Regions from separate parts of the Homo sapiens genome. Here region 1 is linked to region 2. Evidence: promoter capture Hi-C in 16 types of primary human blood cells and fetal thymus (Javierre and others, 2016). All regions are on one chromosome and are shown on one strand. Each heading gives the region's core, a stretch centred on a gene start or on the middle of the fragment in contact. The rest is flanking DNA. Distances are from core to core; before and after follow the strand shown. Region 1 overlaps KLHDC10 (kelch domain containing 10). Region 2 holds the start of LINC-PINT (long intergenic non-protein coding RNA, p53 induced transcript).

Evidence for each region. Contacts are between HindIII fragments. The CHiCAGO score rates a contact against its expected background, and 5 or more counts as called.
Region 1: a contact is called between a fragment that was not itself captured here and the fragment with the promoter of LINC-PINT in region 2, in 1 of 17 cell types (neutrophils). The highest score is 6.0, in neutrophils.

The regions. Positions count from the first base shown.
Region 1 is chr7:130,072,506-130,078,287 of GRCh38, reverse strand. The region is part of intron 1 of KLHDC10 (kelch domain containing 10); the gene reads right to left. Among named protein-coding and RNA genes, the nearest start is that of KLHDC10, 4.9 kb to the right of the region's middle. The HindIII fragment of the contact is 5,502 bases long and covers 1-4,090 here.
Region 2 is chr7:131,106,796-131,112,838 of GRCh38, reverse strand. LINC-PINT (long intergenic non-protein coding RNA, p53 induced transcript) reads left to right here and starts at 2,914. Exons shown (of 8, transcript NR_170176.1): 1 at 2,914-3,102; 2 at 4,036-5,119. It also overlaps a transcript of MKLN1 not described here. RefSeq lists silencers at 1,349-1,408, 2,559-2,708, 2,789-2,838, 4,896-4,955, 4,976-5,025 and enhancers at 1,126-1,667, 4,062-4,913. The HindIII fragment of the contact is 3,581 bases long and covers 610-4,190 here.

The DNA of each region.
Region 1 (5,782 bases), core at 90-2,589, 1.0 Mb after region 2:
ATTCTCCTGCCTCAGCCTCCTGAGCAGCTGGGACTATAGGCATGCACTACCACATCCGGCTAATTTTTTTGTGTGTGTTTTCAGTAGAGACGGGGTTTCACCATATTGGCCAAGCTGGTCTCAAACTCCTGCCCTCAAGTGATCCGCCCGCCTCAGCCTCCTAAAGTGCTGGGATTACAGGCATGAGCCAACACGCCAGGCCTATTTAAAAAAAAAGAAAAAAAAATGAAAAGGAGAAGATAAAATTATCATTATTCAGTAATGATATGATTATTTAGCTATACCTGTTATTCTCTAGAAAAACAACTGGGAAACTATTATAGATAATATTAGAATTCTTAACGTGGCTAGGTATAAAATTAATACTCAAAATTTAATAGCATTCTCATATTCAAACAACCACATAAAAGTTATAAAAGAAAGTAGAAACCCCGGCCGGGCGCGGTGGCTCTCGTCTGTAATCTCAGCACTTTGGGAGGCCGAGGCCGGTGGATCACGAGGTCAGGAGATCGAGACCATCCTGGCTAACATGGTGAAACCCCATCTCTACTAAAACTACAAAAAATTAGCTGGGCGTGGTAGCAGGTGCCTGTAGTCCCAGCTACTTGGGAGGCTGAGGCAGGAGAATGGCGTGAACCCGGGAGGCGGAGCTTGCAGTGAGCCAAGATGGTGCCACTGCACTCCAGCCTGGGCGACAGAGCAAGACTCCGTCTCAAAAAAAAAAAAAAAAAAGAAAGAAAAAGAAAAAAGAAAGTAGTAGAAACCCCATTTACAATAGCAACAAACAAGATAAACACCAAGGAATAAACATAATAAGAAATGTGAGGCCTATATAAAAAAATAAACAACTTTTTAATGTTGATAGATACAAAACAATACTTGAATGACAATAAATACATATACTGTTTTTTTTTTTTTTTTTTTTTTTTTTTTTGAGACAGAGTCTTGTTCAGTCACCCAGGCTGGAGTGCAGTGGCACAATCTTGGCTCACTGCAACCTCTGCCTCCCAGGTTCAACAATTCTCCTGCCTCAGCCTCCCGAGTAGCTGGGATTACAGGCACCTGCCACCAAGAACGGCTAAGTTTTATATTTTTAGCAGAGATGGGGTTTCCCCATGTTGGTCAGACTGGTCTCAAGCTCCTGGCCTCAAGTGATCCGCCTGCCTCAGCATCCCAAAGTGTTGGGATTAAAGGCGTGAGCCCCCATGCCTGGCCACATATACTGTTCTTGAACATAAAGAAATGAATATAGACCCTGTTTTTGAACCTCAAAACGATGTCAATTATCTCTAAATTAATCTATAAATATAATACAATACCAATAAAAATGCCAACAGGACAGAGGAGCAGGACTTGGTTAGCTAATTCTAAGCCATATAGAAAAATAAACAAAGAAAACTTCCCAGGAAAACTCTGGGAAGTAGAATGAGGGAAGATGATAACCAAGGAATAGAGTCATTAGGTATAAATAGGTAATCTGATCAATGAAACAGAATAAAAGTCCAGTAATAACCTCAAACTGTAGGAACTAAGTACACCTATAGACAACATTTCAATCAGCAGGGCAAAGCTGAACTAAATGAAGGACACTGCCATAACTGGGCAGCCATCTGGAAGAAAAGTATAGTTGGATTCCCACCTCGACACTTTATTTAACTTACATTTTGTGTGGGTAAGTGCATTTAACTTAAAAATAAAATTACAGAAGTACCTGGAGAAAACACAAGAATATTTAATTTGAATTAGAAATAATAATAAAATAGGAAAGGCCTTTCTTATGACACAAAACCTAGACTCTGAAAAGACTGATAAATTTCACAACAAAACATTTAAAACATTTAATTTCTGATGAAAAAATAGACCATAAACAAAGTCAAAACGCAAATGAAAAACTGTGAAAAATATCTGCAACGTGTCAATGGCTAAGAACTGATTTCATTAAAATACAGAGTTCCTATAAACCAGGGGTCCGCAAGCCCCAGGCCATGGACCCCTGGTACCGGTCCATGGCCTGTTAGGAACCTGGCCACATAGCAGGAGGTGAGTGGTGGGCGAGTGAGCATTCCCGCCAGAGCTTGGCCTCCTGTCAGATCAAGCATTAGATTCTCATAGGAGTGCTAACTCTACGGTGAACTGTGCATGCAAGGGATCTAGGCTGTGCACTCCTTTTGAGTCTCTAGTGCCTGATGACCTGAGGTGGAACAGTTTCATCCTGAAACCATTCCCCCCACTCCTCCACCCCACCATCCCGGTCCATGGAAAAATTGTCTTCCACGAAACTGGTCCCTGGTGCCAAAAAGGTTGGGTACCGCCTTTATAAACAATATGAACCATCCCAATAGAAAAATGAACAAAAAATATAAACAGATCTATAGATAAAGGAAACAAATAAATGGCTCTTTTATCTACCTATTGGAAAGACACTTAAGAAAACTATTCCTATTAAACTGACAATTTAAATAACGTTTGATAACCCACTCCGTTACCAAAAGAACAAGGAAGACAGCACTCGAACAACAACAGGGAAACATAAACTTGAAATTTGACAGAATCTATCAAAATTTAAGCAGTAAACATAAATCCTTTGACCCAGAAACTGTACTTCTACAAATTTATCCTAAAGAAAGACTCTCTCATGTGCAAAAGTTATATATGTATAGGGCTATTCATTGTATCACTATTTGTATTAGCAAGATTGTAAACATCTTAAATACCCATCCAAACAAAGGAATGCTACCATCTCCACAAAGTCCCTCCCGTCCCCCCTGAACCTGGAAAAAATATACAGGAAATGTATCATTGGTTGCTTCTAGGGAAGGCAGTCAATTAGCTGGGGTCAAAGGAAGAAGAAAAACTTGCCTTTTACCATATACTTTTTTGTATCATTTGGATTTTATACACATTACTTACTTAAAATTTTTAAGTTAAGACTACAGTATTATTTTTACCCAGCTTTACCAACTGTTACATTTTTCCTTCTTTTTCTTTGTCAGTTTTCCAGTTCCCATGTTAGCAACAATGTTTAACTGTTTTCCCAGCTAATCATGGTATTTAATCAAACTCACACAGTTAAATCACAACAGCTACCTGAATTCCATTGCCCCATGAACCCCGCGCTCCTGAGCTCTCTGCATACTTATTCTACAAAAAGCACAATTCCCTGTTCGTTACTGGGTGTATAGAAATTATGAGTTAGTAAAAATCCAGGAGTAAAAAGCTATTAATTTCTTGGCCTATGAGGCAAACACATAATCACTAGTGAACTTCAGAAAACAGGAGAAAGGCAAGTGCTTAAAAAAAGGTTTCACAAACTATTGTTTGTGCTGTCGCAATGGATGCAGAGTCTAATCCACTACTTTACATTAAAGAACCTGATTTTGGCCAGGCACGGTGGCTCACGCCTGTAATCCCAACACTTTAGGAGGCCAAGGTGGGTGGATCACAAGATCAGGAGTTCGAGACCAGCCTGGCCAACATGATGAAACCCCGTCTCTACTAAAAATACAAAAAGTAGCACAGTGGCGCGCACCTATAATCCCAACTACTCAGGAGGCTGAGGCAGGAGAACTGCTTGAACCTGGGAGGCAGAGGTTGCAGTGACATTGCGCCACTGCACTCTAGCCTGGGTGACAGAGCAAGACTCCATCTCAGAAAAAAAAAAAAAAAAAGAGAGAGAACCTTGATTTTAACCATCTATCCAGAGTCAATGTGGCTAGAGGATTGAACCACACTAACCAAACTCACTAGACACTAACGTGTTATATATAATGCCAATGCGTTAATTTAGAATTTTAAAAATATATGTATATGTATATGGCATATATATACGCATATGTGTGTATATGTATACGCACATACATCTCAAGAGTATCAAATCATGCATATCAAGGAATCACACACAAATGGTAAAGTATGCCCAAGGAGAGCCACATGATGCTATGAGTGTTACAGAGAGAAGAGACCAAGTCAGAAAGTCACGGAAGGCTTCCATGTAAAAAAACATTTTGATCAAACTGAGATCTAATGGAAGAGAAGTTAAAACAAGAGAATGGAATGAGGAGTAAGAAGGTTCTTGGATGACGGAAAAGCTTGTGCAATGGACCTGGGGCAGGAGGAAGCATGATACATCCAAGGGGGCAGAAAAAGATCAATGACCAAGAGAACGTAACACAGGATTAACTGTAGAGTTAGAGAGGAGTCAGACGACACAGTGCCTTTGAGGCCATGTTAAAGATTTTTGCCTTATCCTAAGAGCAATAAAAAGGTTGTGAGCAGGGATGAGAATGTATTTGGGCTTGCAAAAAGACTGGTGTGCTATATGAATTGAAGGGCAAGAGTAGAAGCACGAATACTGCTTAAAAAGCTCCTGCAGGAGACCTAAGTGAGGGATGGTGGCACCGTGGATTGGAGTTATGGCAGGAGTAAAAGAAACGGACTTGGTAAATGATTACACCTGAAGTGCAACGGAGAAGAAAATATTGAGGAGGATGACCAAGTTTCAAGTTTGCATAACTGGATGGATAAAGAAGCTATCACTGAAAGAGAATGAGAACACTCCAGGAAGACCAGGTTGTTTTGTTTGGTTTCATTGGGGGCTGGATGGAGGGTTGAGATGTAAAAAGTAAGAAAAGGTTCTAAGTATCAGTAACTGGAAGTCTTGGTAGAGAAGGATGAAAAATGGAACATGGGGCTGGCTGGGCGCTGTGACTCACGCCTGTAATCCCAGCACTTCGGGAGGCTGAGGCGGAAGGATCACTTGAGGCCAGGAGTTCGAGCCCAGCCTGGCCAACATGGCAAAAACCCATCTCTACCAAAAATACAAAAAATTAGCCGGACGTGGTGGCCCGCACCTCTAATCCAGCTACTTGGCAGACTGAGACAGGAGAATTGCTAGAGTTCGGGAGGCAAAGGTTACAGTAAGCCAAGACTGTGCCACTGCACTCCAGCCTGGGCCACAGAGTGAGGCTCTGTCTCAAAAAAAAAAAAAAAAAAAAGACAAATAGGATTTAGAGGTCAAAAGAGAGAGACAGTGAGCTATACTATAGTTTTTTGTTGTTGTTGTTGTTGTTTTTTAATTTTTAACTTGAGATGTGGTCTTGCTTTGTTGCCCAGGCTGGCCTTGAACTCCTAGGCTCAAGTGATCCTCCCACCTTGGACTTTCAAAGTGCTGGGGTTACAGATGTGAGCCACCACGACCAGCCGCTATAGTACACTCAAAAAAATAAAAAATTTGGCTGGGCGAGGTGGCTCACGCCTGTAATCCCAGCACTTTGGGAGGCTGAGACAGGCAAATCACCTGAGGTCAGGAGTTCAAGACCAGCCTGGCCAACATGATAAAATCCCGTCTCTACTAAAAATACAAAAACTAGCCTGGCGTGGTGGTGGGCGCCTGTAATTTCAGCTACTCAGGAGGCTGAGGCAGGAGAATTGCTTGAGCCTAGGAAGTGGAGTTGCAGTGAGCCGAGATCGCGACACTGCACTCCAGCCTGGAGGACAGAGTGAGACTCCATCTCAATAAATAAATAAATAAATAAATAAATTTAAAATAAAAGGTTTTATCTCCAAGGCCCGTCAACCAAGCCTAGACATCCTATTCCTCCCCATCACCTAAAATCTTTTAAAATCTATCAAAATGCAAGAAAAGGGAGAGGCTTAAAATGCAATACCTAGCAGAATAAAGAATTGGTATGAAAGAATTTCAAACTACATAATACATTGAGGTATCAGATGTGTCCCAATTTTGAGAATGAGTAAAGGAGCAATGAAGTGTCAGTCAAGAGAA
Region 2 (6,043 bases), core at 1,665-4,164:
TAAAACACAGGCAAATAGATTATTATTAGTTCCATGAGGATTCAGTTGATTATTTTTTTGTACACCCCTTCCTCCATCATTCCACCACTTTGATCATCAGAGTACTTAGGATTACCTATATCTAAAATGACTGAAAGGCTAGGCATGGTTGAGTGCACCTGTAGCCCCAGCTACTCAGGAAGCTGAGGTGGGAGGCTTGCTTGAGCCCAGGAGTTGGAGGCCAGCCTGGGTAACACAGTGACACGTTGTCATAATAAATAAGTGAGTAGACTGAAAGAACTTTCTCTATACTTTTATATCCTTTTGTAACTCTTATCCTGTTGCTTCCATAATACCACTGAGGCAGGGAGAGACTAAGTACATGGGGAGCAAGGTAAATTTTATTTTTCTGTCAACAGACACTAAAAATGGATACATCAATAGAAAGTCATTTCCCATCATTTCCCTCAAGGTTCCTATGGATAGATATTAAAGGTTCAGTGCTTAAATTTAACATTGCAAAATCCAGCTAAAATTGAAATTTTTATGTAGTGAGTTCAATCTCATCACAGAAGTTTGTAAATGGGAGGAACCTTAGAAATCCTTTAGTCCAGCACTTTCATTTAAGCTTCCACGAAGAAACTGACATAAGACCTACAATGGCTCACTCAAGGTCATCCAGGCTATCGATGCCATTATACATCTTTTTCAAAGGGCTTCATTTTCCATCTAAACAAATTATCTACATCAGAATCCACCTATTTACATAGGGCTTATCTTTCTGATATTGCCTTTGCAATATCCTTGTTATAAAGAGGAAGGAACTGAAAACAAACAAAACAAAACAAGGTTGTCTTGTCCAGGGACATAGAGGAATTGGTAAAAAAGACAATTAGTACACAAAGTGATGGGGTTTCCTATTTGTAGTGTAGCCTTGTAGTCACACTGTGTTCTCCGAATGCCACAATGCTAACCCAAAATTACTTGTCCTTCCTGGGCCTGGATTCCATTCAATTTTATGCCTTGTTTAGTCTAAATGATTTCCCCAGCTTCGACATGTATTTATTTATTTATTTATTTATTTATTTATGCGTTTCATTTTAGAAGTATACTTAAATCTACTCTTTACTCGAGTTTGTCTTAGTTCTAGTGCTGAGGAATGAAGATTCTGGGTAAAAGAAATCAAGATGATGTTTTTTTTTTCTAGGCTTTACATTTCAAGGATTGTTTCTCAAATGGCAACTGGCAGTCTACTCCTCAAATGATGACGTTTTCCACAGGAATTACAATTTAATTGGAATATTTTGTTTTCAATGGGAAGCAAAGATTTCTTTCCAAGAGGATCAGTTTGATAATGTTTTACCAGCTAGTGCTACGAGACCAAATATAAACCAGTTCTGAGAAACAGGAAGTGAACTGACTGGTCTAGTCTGAGTGTCCCTGGCAGTGACGCAAATACAGAAATCAAATTAGGAAAACAAGATATGTGGGTGTGAGGCAATCGATAATAATCCAGGATGCTACAACATAAGCAAGAATGCCTTTAACCCGATGCCATTCATTTTAATAACACCCTGAGCAGTTTGATTTCCACGGAACACGCTGGTGATTAGAGAGCAGCAGGAGCTTGGGTTCCCTAGCAACAGCATGTGCTTTTGAGACAGTCATTAGCCTTTCAGTTAATCCCATCAACCCCTTACCTCTAAATGTATGACTGACATAAAAAAAATGATGTTTTAGAAAGTGCTTTGAAATTTCCAGGAGTGCAATGGAAGGGAATAATCATAATTAAAAAGTTGTCTGGAGAACTACACTCCAGTGAAGGAAGTAATGTTCCTACGTGCCAAGCCTGTCCGTATATTTCCCTGCTCTCAGTTGTAGGTTTCTGAATCCCCTGTGGCAAAGGGCAAGGGAGGTGAAATTGTTCAGAGTTTCAGGCAGTCTTCTCACCTAAAGTGAGTAGTATTGCAATGTCTCTTGGAATCATGGCTCTGAAGATGAGGAGAGAAGCGGGATGGGCAGTTTGTGTGGTGAGGAGGCTGGCTGCAGGTAGGCTGGGAGGGAATGTCACACATAGTTTTCTTTCTCCTTTAAGCCGAATGAGGTATGCTGGTCAAAGGAACTTGGGGAAGGAGGATGGTGAGGGGAATGAAGTTCTTCTTCCTATTGATTGTTTTGTTGCACCAGAGGCTGTTTGTCCAAGGCCACTGGCCAAGAGCATTATTTTCGTGGCTAAAGTGAGGTTGGGCAGGTTTCCCATCCCTTTCACTAGTTTTGAACAAGACAACCCAGAAAGCGCAGCAAGGCTCTGGGAATATGATGTGGGTTGGCTTTTCCTACTCAGCTGCACCTTAAAGCGCCAGGCCGATGGGCTGATACTTCTCAAACCCTGAATCATTGCCTCCAGCTCTGTCCTGGGTTCAGGATGCACCACTCCACCCTCTGTGTAGCTTGGGGTCAACTTCGGGGCGTCACTCCAATAGTAATTATTGCTGCGTTTGGCTGGACATCCTTATTACGGCCTGGGTCCCTCTCAGCTGGAAACTGGGCTCCTTCAGTTTGGCTGGGGTGACTTCTAGCACTTCCCGCCGCCCCACCTTACCCCCCTGCGCGCTCCCTTCCCAAGGCGACCACCTGCACCGCCCCACTTACCATCTGCCCCGCGGGGAGGGCCCCCCGGGCTAGCGGAGCCCTCCCTGCTCCCGGGCGGCTCTGGAGGAGCTCGGTGTTTGCCTCTAGCCCTTCGCTACCGGAGGATCAGGTTCCTCCCCTCCTCCCCCTCCAGCTCCGGCCGCCGCCGCCGCCGCCGCCGCCTCCTTCTTGCATGACACAGCAGAACCGCAGCTGCTGCAGCAATTTCAAGCCATCCGCCCAGGAAGCGCCGCAACCGGGACTCGGGAGGGGTGGAGGGGGCGAGGCAGAGGCCGCGGCCCCAGGGGATCCTTGGCCCCACTGTGCACCACACACTCCTTTCCCAGCCCAGGGGCACGCGAACAAAATGAGGCTCAAGCTGACCAGGCCGAGCCGGAGGAACGCTGGGGCTTGGCAGCAGAAGGGATGGGACCAGAGAGAAGGGTGTGGAGGAGACCCCAGTGAGGGCCAGGACATTTCAGGTAAAGAGAGGTAAGAAGAGGCCCAGAAGTCAAGGGCCAGACTGTGAAGGTGATTAGAGGTCAAAAGAGGTAAGGAGGTAGAGTTGCAAAGAAGAGAGGCCGAGCTGGGAAGGGCGTGGGGGTGGGGGTAGCTGCAGGGGAGGGTGGGGGGTACAGTCTTTGGGGAGGCCCGAGCTGAGCCCCCAGGCAGAAAAGGGGCTGAGTTGGGAGGCAAGGGAGGTAGGAGGAAAGGGATGAAAAGAATTAGGCATGAGATAGGAAGGTAAAACTTGGGAGAGATATTATAGAATTAGAAGGGTTGGAATGGAGCTCATTCATCATGGCTGATGAAGTAAACTGATGAGGTGGAGAGAGACAGAGTCAAGGCAAGGCCAAACGAAAAGATCTTCCATCCCACTCTTCAGTTTCTTGCGAAGTTTTTCTTGATTCCGCCAATCCACACAGTTTCCTTTATAAAATGGAAAAGCATGAACTAAAAAACCCAGAAATAGCTATCTGGCTTAGATTTACAGGATAAAATCTCCATGTCTGTAAAAACTTTAAGGCAGAAATTTGGGATTTATGGTACAAACCCTTTAAGGGACTGTGAGTCAGTAATACCCACAGCACTCAACATTGTGAGTTTCCACACATCCCTGGACTTGAGTGAGTCTTTCCAAGTGTTTGTTAATGGTACAAATGATGACAAAATTAGTGGTTCAAAAATATTAAAGTGCACATGCTTTTTGCTTTCTCTATGTATACAGAGATTACATATATGTATACTTTCTAGCGTCTAGCAAGTATGGTATGGCTAGGGATAATTATGTTTTTCTGATTATTTTGTTTCCCATCAAACACCCCACGAATTTTACAGCAGACCGCCTTCTTGTCACCATTTGAAAGAATGTGGTCAGAAAAGTAATGCAAAAACTGCCACTTTGGTTTTGTCTGTACCTTCCAGGTCATATCTCCGTACCTCACTTCCTGACACAAACAAGTTTTCACTGTTGTCAGCAACAAAGCCCTAATATAGCTGCGGAAGAGAAAAACTGCATTGCATTTTGCCTCCTGCAAGCATCATCAACAGTTACTGGAGGAACGTAATTCCAGAAAGCTTGAAAGCCGTGGTGATGGTAATTATGTATCAAATGCCTGGTTCTATTTCTGTTATTATTGTTTTGTCATTTCTGTTTTCCCAGCGATCTGACTGAACTCGCAGAGGGACAAATCCAGTTTTTCTTTTTGACTTTTGTCAAACTAAATCAGGCCTGATAGAAAACTCATTGCTCTCCGGGGAAACAAAGTAGGAGCCACGAAATGTCATTTTAACAGAGCGTGGGTTTGGTGACTGTAGGAAAGGATTTGAGGACGCTCCTTCTGTTCGGCTTCCTATGTCATGAGCACAGGCTCCACGCACGCACAGACACCACGGCTCCCGGATGCTGTGGCTCCCCGATCGGGGCTCCTGCAGCGCCAGAAGCCCCTCCGGGATGCTTCGAGGGGCTCCCGGTGGGTGGAGGTACGGACGCCGCTGCGGCCGCCGCCGCCAGTCCTGCTGCTGTTGTTGCTGCTGCAGTCACGTGGGAGCCCCTTTAAGTTTCCATAGAGAGGCCTCTCTGGTGTCACATGATGGACATGATATAATGAAACAACATTGTGGAGAGGAAAGCATTAGGGGAGCCCACGGCTACAAAAACAAGTGAGTGAGAAGAGGTGGGAGGAAGAGAAACTACGCCACCTCCCCTGCAGCCGAGTGCACGCAGCAGCCTGGCGTGACAAGTGGGCGACGCCGGGGGGCAGGGAGCCGGGGTCCTTGGCCCTGGCCGGGGACCCCACCGCCCACCGCGCGGAGGACAACTTTTAGCCGGCAGCCCAGACCAGCGCGGCACCTGTCTCCGGAGTCTCCACCGCTCCTCCCGATTCATCCCAGGGAAATTCTCAAGAATACGCTCTACAAATCTACGTGCGCATCATTTTCACCTCGCGTCGCGCCCGGGAGGAAGGAACGAGGCAAGGAGCTAAAGCAGCGTGCGTTCAGCCCTGGGGTAAGTTCGTCGGGTGGGGAAGCCGGTCCCGCAGGACTTTGGGATGGGAATTTTGCTCTCCTTTGCGATCTCAGGGCGTGAAGAAGGCGTCCCCTCCGCTGCCGGCGGAGCTGATCGGCTGGCTAGTCAATTTCCCCTTAGCACGCCCCGTGCGCCCACCCTCGCTCAGCCCGGGGCCCCCTCGCCGTCCCCCGGAAGGGGTCTGCGGTTCCTGGCCAGGACGTTCGGAAGGCGAGCGGGGGAAGGTAGGGCTGTCGCGGGAACCCGGCTTGTGAGAGCGATTTCGCCATGTTTGTGTTGCTAAGAGCACTTTTTCCCCTTTGCTGTGGCTTGATGCCACATGGCTCCTCCGGAGCTGCTGCCGGGCTGAGAGAGTGTTTTTTTTTTTTTTTCAATGTCCGCATTCCAGCTAATGTTGCGCAGATAAAATTCAAACTTGAGGTAAACAGAAGAAGAGGAGGAGGAGGAGGAGGAGGGGAGGGGGGAGGAAGGGGGGACTGTTTCCATTTCGAGATCCCACCTCTTCCCTCCGCGCAGCCCAACATCCCGAACCTAGAGACAACTCTTGCCTTTCTCCCACGTCCCCCACCTTTGCTGTCAACAAGAAATAAAGGCGGGGCGGGGGGGGGGGTTGGAGGTAGGGGGTGGCGTGCTTATTAATTAGAAAGGACGCGGTGTCTCGGTTCTCCACTGGAATCAGCAACTCCCTGGAACTCGGGCCTCTGGCCCCGTCCCTCTTTTCTCCGGCAGGGACGCAGGATGCCTTGGTGCACTCTAGAGACGGGGACCGGAGGGTGCAGCGCGCCTGGGTGGGGCGAAGGGCGCCGGTCTCCTCACGCCCTCTGACTTTAGGATACCAGACAGTGTCTCTTCAACCCCACCCCAGGCGCAGGTTTCCAGAAGGCGGGGTGGGTGGGGCCCCCG